Regions from separate parts of the Homo sapiens genome. Here region 2 is linked to region 1. The links are contacts of gene promoters, found by promoter capture Hi-C in blood cells and fetal thymus (Javierre and others, 2016). All regions are on one chromosome and are shown on one strand. Each heading gives the region's core, a stretch centred on a gene start or on the middle of the fragment in contact. The rest is flanking DNA. Distances are from core to core; before and after follow the strand shown. Region 1 has its middle 5.2 kb from the start of CCNG2. Region 2 holds the start of CDKL2 (cyclin dependent kinase like 2).

Region 1 (5,247 bases), core at 281-2,780:
TTTTTGTTTGTTAATATATCTTTTAAAAAAAAATTCTCCTCATTCTATTTGTCCTTATCACATTGGCTTACCTTGCCGGAGCTGAAAGTGTTATTTATGAAAAAGACATTATTCCCCTTAGGCTAATCAGGCTTTACCCATTAGCCTTTCCTGAGCTTTCTGGAAGGCAAATTTCCTGTATCATGCACACATACAAAATAAGGAAATCAGAAACTTGGCAGCCCCCAAGAACTTCCAGACAATTTAAGATACTTGGTTTTCTACAGCATGTGGTAGGGGTGCAGTGGGGTTGGGTGATACTGTCACCAATAACCCCATGAAAGCCTGATGTGCAGCCCATTGTCCTCAGTGACATGTGAGACTGAAACTAAAAGGTGCTCACAGAATGGGTAATAAGCAGGGAGTGCCCACACAGAAACACTGACTACATTCAGTGAATCCCTGACTCCTGACAAGTGTGCTGCAAACCTGCTCACACTTAAGCTTCTACCTTGAAAATAGGGCACTCTCATGGGACAGTTGCAGTGCTTCCCTAAATGACTTAGACTTCCCTGAACTTCATAAGGCATCAAAATTGCTACAATTTTCCAAATATCATCTTTCTCCTCAAAGATATGGTTTTTGACAATAAATCCTAGCTTTTTATTCAATCGAAATTTAGTGAATACACACTGAGTGCCAGGCATGCTACTAGGCACCAGGAATACAAAAATACATAAATAAAACAAGGCCCCAGCATATACCCTGGTATGTCTGAGGTGTAGGGCAAAAGCACTGGCCATGGATCAAACTGGCTTTGTGTCTCAGCTTTCCTACTCATTAGAAATGGTGCCTTGAATACCCTGAATAATTCCCATGGTCTTGAGCCTCAGCTTTCTAAACTGAGGAAAACAAAAAGCCAGAGGTAGTTGTGTCTGCTTCATATGTGATGACTGAATACAAACATTTGTGAAAGCAACTAGCTATATATTTCTAGGCTGCACCATGTTGTGACTTCATGAAGGGAAAGGAAGGGATCATCCCTAACCTCATCAAAGAAGTCTGGTGGAAAGCAGCCCTGAAAGGAAAGAACCTGAGGATAAGGATACGTAAAGCTGACATGAGGCCATACTCCCCCTCCCCGTCTACTCACTATTGCTGGGTCCCTGCCTGGGCTGTTTTCTGTCATTAGGCTGAGCACAGTGGTTCATACCTGGAATCCCGGCACTTTGGGAGGCTGAGGTGGGAGGATCACTTGAGCCCAGGAGTTCAAGACCAGCCTGGGCAACATAGCGAGACTTCATCTCTACAAAAAATTTTAAAAATTATCTGGGCGTGGTGGCATGCACCCGTAGTCCCAGCTACATGTGAGCCTGAGACAAGAAGATTGCTTGAGCCTGGGAGGTCTATGCTACAGTGAGCCATGATCATGTCACTGCACTCTGGCCTGGGCAACAGAGCAAAACCCTGTCTCAAAAAAAAAAAAAAAAGTGGTTTGCAGCCCCAAACTTCCTGCTTAGATAAGTCTTGCTTCACAGAACCTGCAATGGAGACAGGAATGCCTCTCTGAGGAAGAGAAACAGGGAAGGTATAGCATAGTAGCATAGGGTGCTATCTTGAAGTAATGCAGATTTTTCAACCAAGAGCTCATTTTTAAATCAGAACCTGGAAGAATGAGATGATTTATATAGCAGATGATTAATCTCTGTCTTCAAGCAATCAGCAGAATAAGTCAGTGAAACATCTCATATATTCTCCTTTCTGATTTTCCCACAAACAAGACCATCTCAAATTTGAAATCAACATTTTACAATCCATTTACTATATATTTTGTTGCTTTTGTTGTTAATGCTAGAAGCATGCCCTGTTTTTTTGGAAGAGTGTTTATGCAAGGGTTGGCCATATTCATAAACATTCATAGTGTTTATCTACGTAGGGTTGGCTTTGGAATTGTGGAAATTATCCACACTGTAGACACCATCTGAATGACTACAGCAAGAGGACCAGTTTTTCCAGCCAGCCACTTTAGTCCCTCCCAGTTCTACTAGCCTGCAAGAGAGTAGCCTTGTAGGAACTATCTCTGCAACCTGAGAACTTGAGAACTAAATGCTCGGTTGACTCTGAAGCCCGACTCAGTACTTTGTTATCCAGTGCTCTCTCTTTTACACGAATAATCAACTGAAATAAATGAAGTAGCTTTGACATAATGTGAAAAGCCTGGCAAAGGAGAGTGAACTGAGAATTCGGCAATGCCTGAAATCAGAACTAATCATCTCAAAATCATCTTAAAATATATTTTAAGTGGCTCAGGCTACATTCTGGTACATTGTACATGATTCTTTATGTAACACATTTTTCTTTCATGGTTTGTTTCAAGAACCATGACCTAACTCAGAGATTTCCTGTCTTTCCTTGACATCACAGTGCTATATGAAGTTGACACTGTCAGCAAAGAGTAACTTAGGATACATCTGTTGAATGTATCATCTTATTTCCAAAAGAAGTTTTACTGTCTGTGAGAGTCATGATCTCTTTTTTTATCTCAAATGAAAAGGCAATTGATGTTTAAAGTGATATGGATAAGTGGTATAAGCTTAAAATTTGCTTCTGTTAACATTTTAAAGTGTTTTCAAAATGAAATTTTTTTTTTAACTTTAAAAAGAAAGACTGCTGTTGAAACCCTGTCTCTACTAAAAATACAAAAATTAGCTGGGTGTGGTGGCACACACCTGTAGTCCCAGCTACTTGGGAGGCTGAGACAGGAGAATCACTTGAACCTGGGAAGTGGAGGTTGCAGTGAGCCAAGATCACGCCACTGCACTCCAGCCTGGTGACAGAGCGAGACTCCGTCTCAGAAAAAAAGAAAGACTGCTTTATATCAAAGATCCTCAGGTCTGTTTAATTACGTATATTTTTATGTTTTCAACCACATTCTGAATAAGAAATTGTGGCTACATGCAGAAGTAGAACCAGATTTAAGGTAGTACATTTGAAGCTTTACTATTTGGAGGGGCTCTCTCTAGGAAAAAAAGAATTTACAAATACAAAATTAGATATGAAAGTGAATACTTATTTAAAACGAGACAATTCAAGACAAAGTGTAAATTTTAAACAGTTGTTACATACTGACTGCTTCGGCTATCTACTGCTGTACAATGAATCACCCAAAACTTAGTGACTCAAAACAACAATAATTTTATTATCATCACCCACAGGTCTGGGGCGTTGCTTGAACTCAGCTGGGCAGCCCTTGCTCAGGGTTTCTTATGAAGTTGTAATCAGATGGTAACTGCGGCTGGCATCATCTTGCTGCCACTCACGTGTCTGGAGTTGTTGCTGACTGTGGGCTGGGACCTCTGCTGAGGCTGGTGGCTGGAACATTTATATGTGACCACTCCACGTGGTCTTTCCATTTCCTCATGGCATGGTGGCAGGGCCTGAAGAAAATCAGGTGAACACTGTGTCTCCTTTTACAAACCAGCCTTGGCAGTCAGATAGCATCTATATTAATTTCACACTGATGGTCTAGGAAATTACCACAAATTTAGGGATTTAAAACAACAAATGTTTATCATATTACAGTTCTGGAGGTCAGAAGTTCAAAATGGGTCTCACTGGGCTAAAATCAAGGTGTCAGCAGGGCTGCAGTCCTTCTGAAGGCTCTAGAGAGTATTCATTTTCTTGCCTTTTCCACCATCTAGAGGCCACCTGCGTTCCTTGGCTTGTGGCTCTTCCTCCATCTTTAAAGCCGGCATCATGGCATCTCCAGATCTCTCTTGACTCTGACTCTTCTGCCTCCCACTTCCAGCTATAAGGACCTTAGTGATTACATTGGGCCCACCTGAATAGTCCAGTATAGTCTCACCATCTCAACGTCAGCTGGTGCTTGCTTCAGCATCACATATATTAAAATTGTTTTTTTGTTGTTTTTTTTGTGTGTGGGGGGGGTTGTTTGTTGTTTGTTTGTTTGTTTTGAGATGGAGTCTTACTCTGTCACCCAGGCTGGAGTGCAGTGGCACGATCTCGGCTCACTGCAACCTCTGCCTCCTGGGTTCAAGGGATTCTCCTGCCTCAGCCTCCCAAGTAGCTGGGATTATAGGTGTGCACCACCACGCCCAGCTAATTTTTGTATTTTTGGCAGAGACAGGGTTTTGCCCTCTTGGCCAGGCTGGTCTTGAACTCCTGACTTCAGGTGATCTGCCCGCTTCAGCCTCCCAAAGTACTGAGATTACAGGCGTGAGCCACCACGCCTGGCCACATATATTAAAATTGGAATGTTACAGAGAAGATTAGCATGGCCCCCATGCAAGGATGACAGGCAAATTTATGAAGTGTTCCGTATTTTTAAGAAAAAGAAAAGTTTGGGCATGGTGGCTCATGTCTGTAATCCCTGCACTTTGGGAGGCCGAGATGGGAGGATTGCCTGAGCCCAGGGCTTCTAGACCAGCCTGGGCAACATGGCAAGACGTTTTCTCTACAAAAATTTTAAAAATTAGCCAAGCATGGTGGCATGCACTTGTAGTCTCAGCTTGGGAGGCTGAGGTGGGAGTATCACTTGAGTCCAGGTCAAGGTTGCAGTGAGCCATGTTCACACCACTGCACTCTAGGCTGGGTGACAGAGAAAGACCCTGTCTCAAAAAAAAAGAAAAGAAAAGAAAAGAAAAGAAAAAAAAGGTCAGCAGATTTGCAACCTTAATTCCATCTTGCTATATTACATAACATATTCACAGCTGGTGAGGAATAGGATGTGGACATTTTTGAGGGACCTTTATTCTGTCAACTACAACATCCTTTCAGCCACAGTCACATCTACTCAGGTTCAAAGACAGGGAACGTAGATTCCACTTCTCAATGAGGGATGTGTCAATCACCTTATAACAAGAGCATGTGGGATAGGAGATACTGTGATGACTGTCTCTGGAAAATAGTCTTTTACATTCACAAACATAAAAAATCTGGAAAATCCCATAATATTTTTTATTAATAAACTGCCTGACATATGGCTGTACAACTTTTTACCAATATTTTTGGCTGTATACTCTCTGATCACCTCTTCATATGATAATAATATATTAATATAATTTTCTGAAGAGAACTTTTTTTAAATTTAGTTTTTCCTTTAATATGGCTAATCAAATTTTGTTTTTAAAAAATTGTTGCTGTTTTAAAATGTTTATTTCAGTTTTATAATTCATTATTAATACCATAGTATATGTTATGGTTGATATTAGATTTGGGAAAATCTTTACCAAGTTTTTTTCTGCGTAC
Region 2 (4,876 bases), core at 1,483-3,982, 1.5 Mb after region 1:
TTAATGGTATTTTCTTCAGCATCTTTGATTCCTTTTTTTTTTCTCAGTGATCCTTGTTCTGAAATTCCTTAACTCCTTTGTTTAATCTTTTTGCATTACCAGTTCTCTAAAAGAGGCAGCTTATATATCATCTATTTTCTCCATTCTTTCCTTTGGGGTTGCCCAATTCTGGGCAACAGTGTCAGTTGGTTCACTGTAAATTCATGGTACCCAGGCTCAAGTGAGCACATTTTTACTATTTTGTGTTCCTTTTATATCAAAATGACTTCTTAACTATTCTAACGTATTTCTGCTCTCAAATCCTTAAGCCTCTATCTCACCATTACCTTTTTATGCAAAAATAAAGTTCTTTTACTGAGATGGCCTGGGCCCACAGTGTATGCCCTACACTTTTCTCAGTTTTTTCCATTTTCTCTAAACCTCTTCAAGCCTAACCCCTTCTCATATATTATTACCTACTCTTCAGTACCTCTCCTTGGTTTTTCATTAATTATTCATTTTCTTGCCCCTTTAAGGTCTCTCCCCACTCTTTTTCCCTATAAATATTTCCCTCTTTAAAAAGAAAAAATAGGCCGGGTGCGGTGGGTCACGCCTGTAATCCCAGCACTTTGGGAGGCTGAGGCGGGCGGATCAACTGAGGTCAGGAGTTCGAGACCAGTCTGACCAACATGGCGAAAACCTGCCTCTACTAAAAAAAGAAAAAAATTAGCCAGGCGTGGTGGTGGGGTCCTGTAATCCCAGCTACCTGGGAGGCTGAGACAGGAGAATCGCTTGAACCCAGGAAGCAGAGGTTGCAGTGAGCCAAGATCGTGCTGCTGCACTCCAGCCTGGGCAACAGAGTGAGACTCCGCCTCAGAAGAAAAGAAAGAAAAAATAGTAACACAATCCTGTTTCTACATAATACCTTCTCTATTAACAATCCTGTAGATGGCCAGAATGTGTAAGTCTTTAATAACCTCTGTCCTCTACAACTGGCTTTCAAACTCAGTTCTTACTGAAATTGTTTTTTTTTGGTTTGTTTGTTTTCTTTTTTTCAGTCTCCCAAGTAGCTGGGAGTACAGGCGTTCACAACCATGCCCAGCTAATTTTTGTATTGTTAGTAGAGACAGGGTTTCACCATGTTGGCCTGGCTGGTATCAAACTCCTGACCTCAGGTGATCTGCCCGCCTTGGCCTCCCAAAGTGCTAGGATTACAGGCATGAGCCACCGCATCTGGCTGAAATTGTTTCCTAAAGCATCACTTGTTCGCCAAATCCAGTATTTTCAGTCTTTATCCTTTGGTTCCCTGTGAGATATAAATAGATTATTGAAGCTTCTAGGCCTCTTGCATGAAGGGGCCTTAAAATGTTATACGGTTGAATATGATTATAAAGTTGCAAAAGTAAAATAGTTTTGCGCTCTTGTTCTTAAGCTTCAGGCCCAACAAAACTGAATCTACCCCCATATAAAAGAAGTTCATCAGATTCTCTTATAGCCTATAGAGGTACCAAATGGGACAGGGCTTCTCGCAACTTGGACACAGCTAAGGACAGAGCTAATTGCTACACTAAGAGTCACATCTTGAATTGACCAAATAATTCTATTCTTTCCATAACTAGGCCTCAGGTCTGGTTCTCAATATTACAGGTTCAGGAACTAGATTTTAAGCAGTCTGACCAAGGTAATTAACCACTGGGAGATTAATGCAAACTAACCAAACTCACAAAAGACTATAAAAAGAATGTCTATTTCTTAATGTACAAGAAGGAATCAATACCTTAACATTAATGATTAATACCTTAATATTGACTAGGGTATATGGTAGACATTTGTCTATCCAGGACACTCTATTCCCTAAATCAAAGTAGTTTCGAGACCAAAATGATCATGAACATTTAGTTATCATGATTGAAAGTGTTATTTTACTGGCCTTATGGCCTCCTCGCTGCCTCAGATTCTTTGAAAATGGGGTAAGCTCTGTTCCTGTGTGATTTAAGCCTGTGCATGATTCTGACCTACCAGTCTTGCTCAGTCGTGGATTGAGCTGCATTTTTGCATTTAAGGCAAGTTTTATCGCAAGCCCTAACTCCACCCCATTTGGCTGCCATACGCGGGTGTTGTGCGTGTCCTCCAGATCCCCAGCCATCCCAGCGCTTTCCCATTCCACTCATGCCCTCTCTTCCCCTTCCTCCATCTCAGTGTTTTCCCTCACTTTCAATGGCCAGACTGGCCTTCCCAAGGTCCCTCCTAACGTCAGGTCTGTCATCACCTACCTTCTTCCACCTTGCCTCGCCTACTAATCATCACCTCCTAAACTGTCACCGTTATCTCCTACCTGGCTCACACTGGCCCCACCGCCCAGAACAGAAAGGAAGCATGGAATCCCGGTCAGGCCGCGCCTACGCGACTCAGGGCGCCCGGCGCCCGCCCCTGCCCCAGCGGCGATGCTATGAGGGAAACCGTATCGCATTTTGCATAGTCTTCGCAGTCCTACATAACCGCCACCTTTACCCTTCGCGTGGGCATCACAATCGCCTCCTCCCGCTGGGGAAGGCAGAAAGGCGCCTCCTGACGAGAACCAAGGCGTGTGGGGACGCAGGGCCTCTGCGTGTCAGGGAGCAGAACCTGGGCCGAGCCCTAGGTGAAGGGGCGGGGTGGTTGGCCCTGAGCCAATCATGGCTCGTGACGACTCGGCTCGGCCAATCAGAAGAAGGGAGGCCTGGCGCTCTCGGGGCGGGTGAGAAACCGCCCCCCCTTGCAGCTCCGCGGCCAACGCCTTCGCCCAGGGGTAGTTGGAGCGGTGCAGGTTCCCAGGCTCCAGGTACTGGGCGCCTTACGAGCTGGGAGGTGGTGCCTCTCACCCAGCTAATTGCTCTCTAGCCCTTGGCCTTCACAGGTGTTGGTGCCTGCCGTGAACGCATTCTGACCTGGGCCGTATCTGTCTCCCAAGACTTTGTGCCTATGGTTGGGGACAGAGTGAGGTCGTTGCCTTGACGACGACAGCATGCGGCCCGTGGTCCTCCTAAGTGTGAGCTTGCGGCGGACCGAGGCCCACCTGCCTCCCTGCCTGCTTCGCCCTGGACTCGTGACTGCGTCCGCAGAAGAAATCACAACAGCGCTGGAATTGCTAGTTTGCTAGGCAGCATCTTTTGGACCTGCGAACCATATGCATTTCACCTCAAATTTGTTTCCAAGTTGAAAACCTTTGGGTCTTTCTATGCGAACGGATTGAAGAAACGGTAAGTATAGTACGTTTTAAAGCTTCTATTATCTCGTTCTTTGATCTATAAAAGATTTCAATCTTTTTTTTTTTTTTTTTTTTTTTTTTTTTTTTTTTTTTTTGAGACGGAGTTTCACTCTTGTTGCCCAGGCTGGAGTGCAATGGCATGGTCTCGGCTCACCGCAACCTCTGCCTCCTGGGTTCAAGCGATTATCCTGCCTCAGCCTCCCAAGTAGCTGGGATTACAGGCATCACCACCACGCCCGGCTAAGTTTGTATTTTTAGTAGAGACAGGGTTTCTCCATGTTGGTTAGGCTGGTCTCGAACTCGCAACCTCAGGTGATCCGCCCGCCTCGGCCTCCCAAAGTGTTGGGATTACAGGCGTGAGCCACCGCTCCCGGCCCTTTAATCTGTCTTAAACAAAATAAAAAATTAGCATTCTCCAAATATTTTTATCAAAATTGTTGCTTTTAGAACCATCCAGAAATAACACCTTGCCCATTGGCCAGGTTTCTTTTTCGTTTGTATTACCTTTCCGTTCAAGAGTAGAAGGCATGAGAAGTTATAGTTTATGAGTAACTGTTTCAGGAAACAGGAGGCTTTGTAGGCTGTGATACTTTTAAAGTATTTGTGGACAGTGTCACTTGAAAAAGCAGGTGTGTTCAATGTGGTGTGTCCAGATATGCAATTGGTTGGGAGAATAAACTTGAAGCAGTCAACTTGCATTAATGTTAGCTTGGGATATGCTTCAGAACACCTCAGACATGCTTAAAGTCATTTTTTTTGGTTCACTTTGTGCTTTCAAATATTGAGGACATCAATTACAAAATGTTTTAAAATAATCCAGGTTATAGATTCAAGCTATTTTTGTCATTGGTATGATAAACCTAAAGCCTAGTGCTTAATAAAACATACTCTCTTAATGGAAGAGAAAAAAATTAAGAAGGGATAGAATTATATGGAGATTTTTTTTTTCAAATACAAACAGTTTATTAAAAAATAGTTAATGGAAGTGGAATAGAAGGTAAAATGTCAAATGCATGGAAAGTTAGTGTCTGGGACACTGCTCTGTAAAAAGTTTGTAGTAGAATCTACTATGAAAACTGGTAGTAAAATAATAATTTAAGTCGATGTTCATTGGTATTGTTTTCATTTCCCACCCCTCAAGATCAATCTTCTGGTTCTCCACATATAGCTACATTAAAAATATATATATTATAAAATCTCAAACTATTATATGTCAAGTGTGGAAAACGTATTGTATACATTGGATTAGCATAGTTTGCTAGAACAAAGAGAATATTTGTTTTGTCTTTGCATCACTGTTCCAATAGAGAAATAGGAAAAACAGTTCACGATCTGAGTAAATTTTAGATTGCCGTAAGTATACAATTAATACAACAGGCAAGAATTATTTCTTGTTAAAATCTATCTGTATTTGGACTGAAATAATTTTTTATCTATTATTACTGAAATAATAGATAGTTAAAATCTATCTGTATTTGGACTGAAATAATTTTTTTCTGTACGAAAGCATTTTGTCCAATGATTGCTGGACCTTCGTCAATCATTGGTAAAACAAGAAAGATTCTCTTAGGATTGCCTTTATTCAGAAAATGTCATATAATATGAGTAAAAAATTTCAAGGCCGGGCGCGGTGGCTCACGCCTGTAATCC

Evidence for each region. The method cuts DNA at HindIII sites, captures the fragments that hold promoters and counts their contacts. A CHiCAGO score of 5 or more calls a contact.
Region 2: a contact is called between the fragment with the promoter of CDKL2 here and a fragment that was not itself captured in region 1, in 3 of 17 cell types (fetal thymus, naive CD4 T cells and total CD4 T cells). The highest score is 7.9, in fetal thymus.

The regions. Positions count from the first base shown.
Region 1 is chr4:77,149,406-77,154,652 of GRCh38, reverse strand. It overlaps the pseudogene RNU6-1187P. Among named protein-coding and RNA genes, the nearest start is that of CCNG2, 5.2 kb to the left of the region's middle. RefSeq lists a silencer at 230-299 and an enhancer at 2,010-2,059. The HindIII fragment of the contact is 2,089 bases long and covers 486-2,574 here.
Region 2 is chr4:75,628,384-75,633,259 of GRCh38, reverse strand. It overlaps CDKL2 (cyclin dependent kinase like 2), which reads left to right and starts at 2,732. Exons shown (of 14, transcript NM_001330724.2): 1 at 2,732-3,218. The HindIII fragment of the contact is 1,829 bases long and covers 1,414-3,242 here.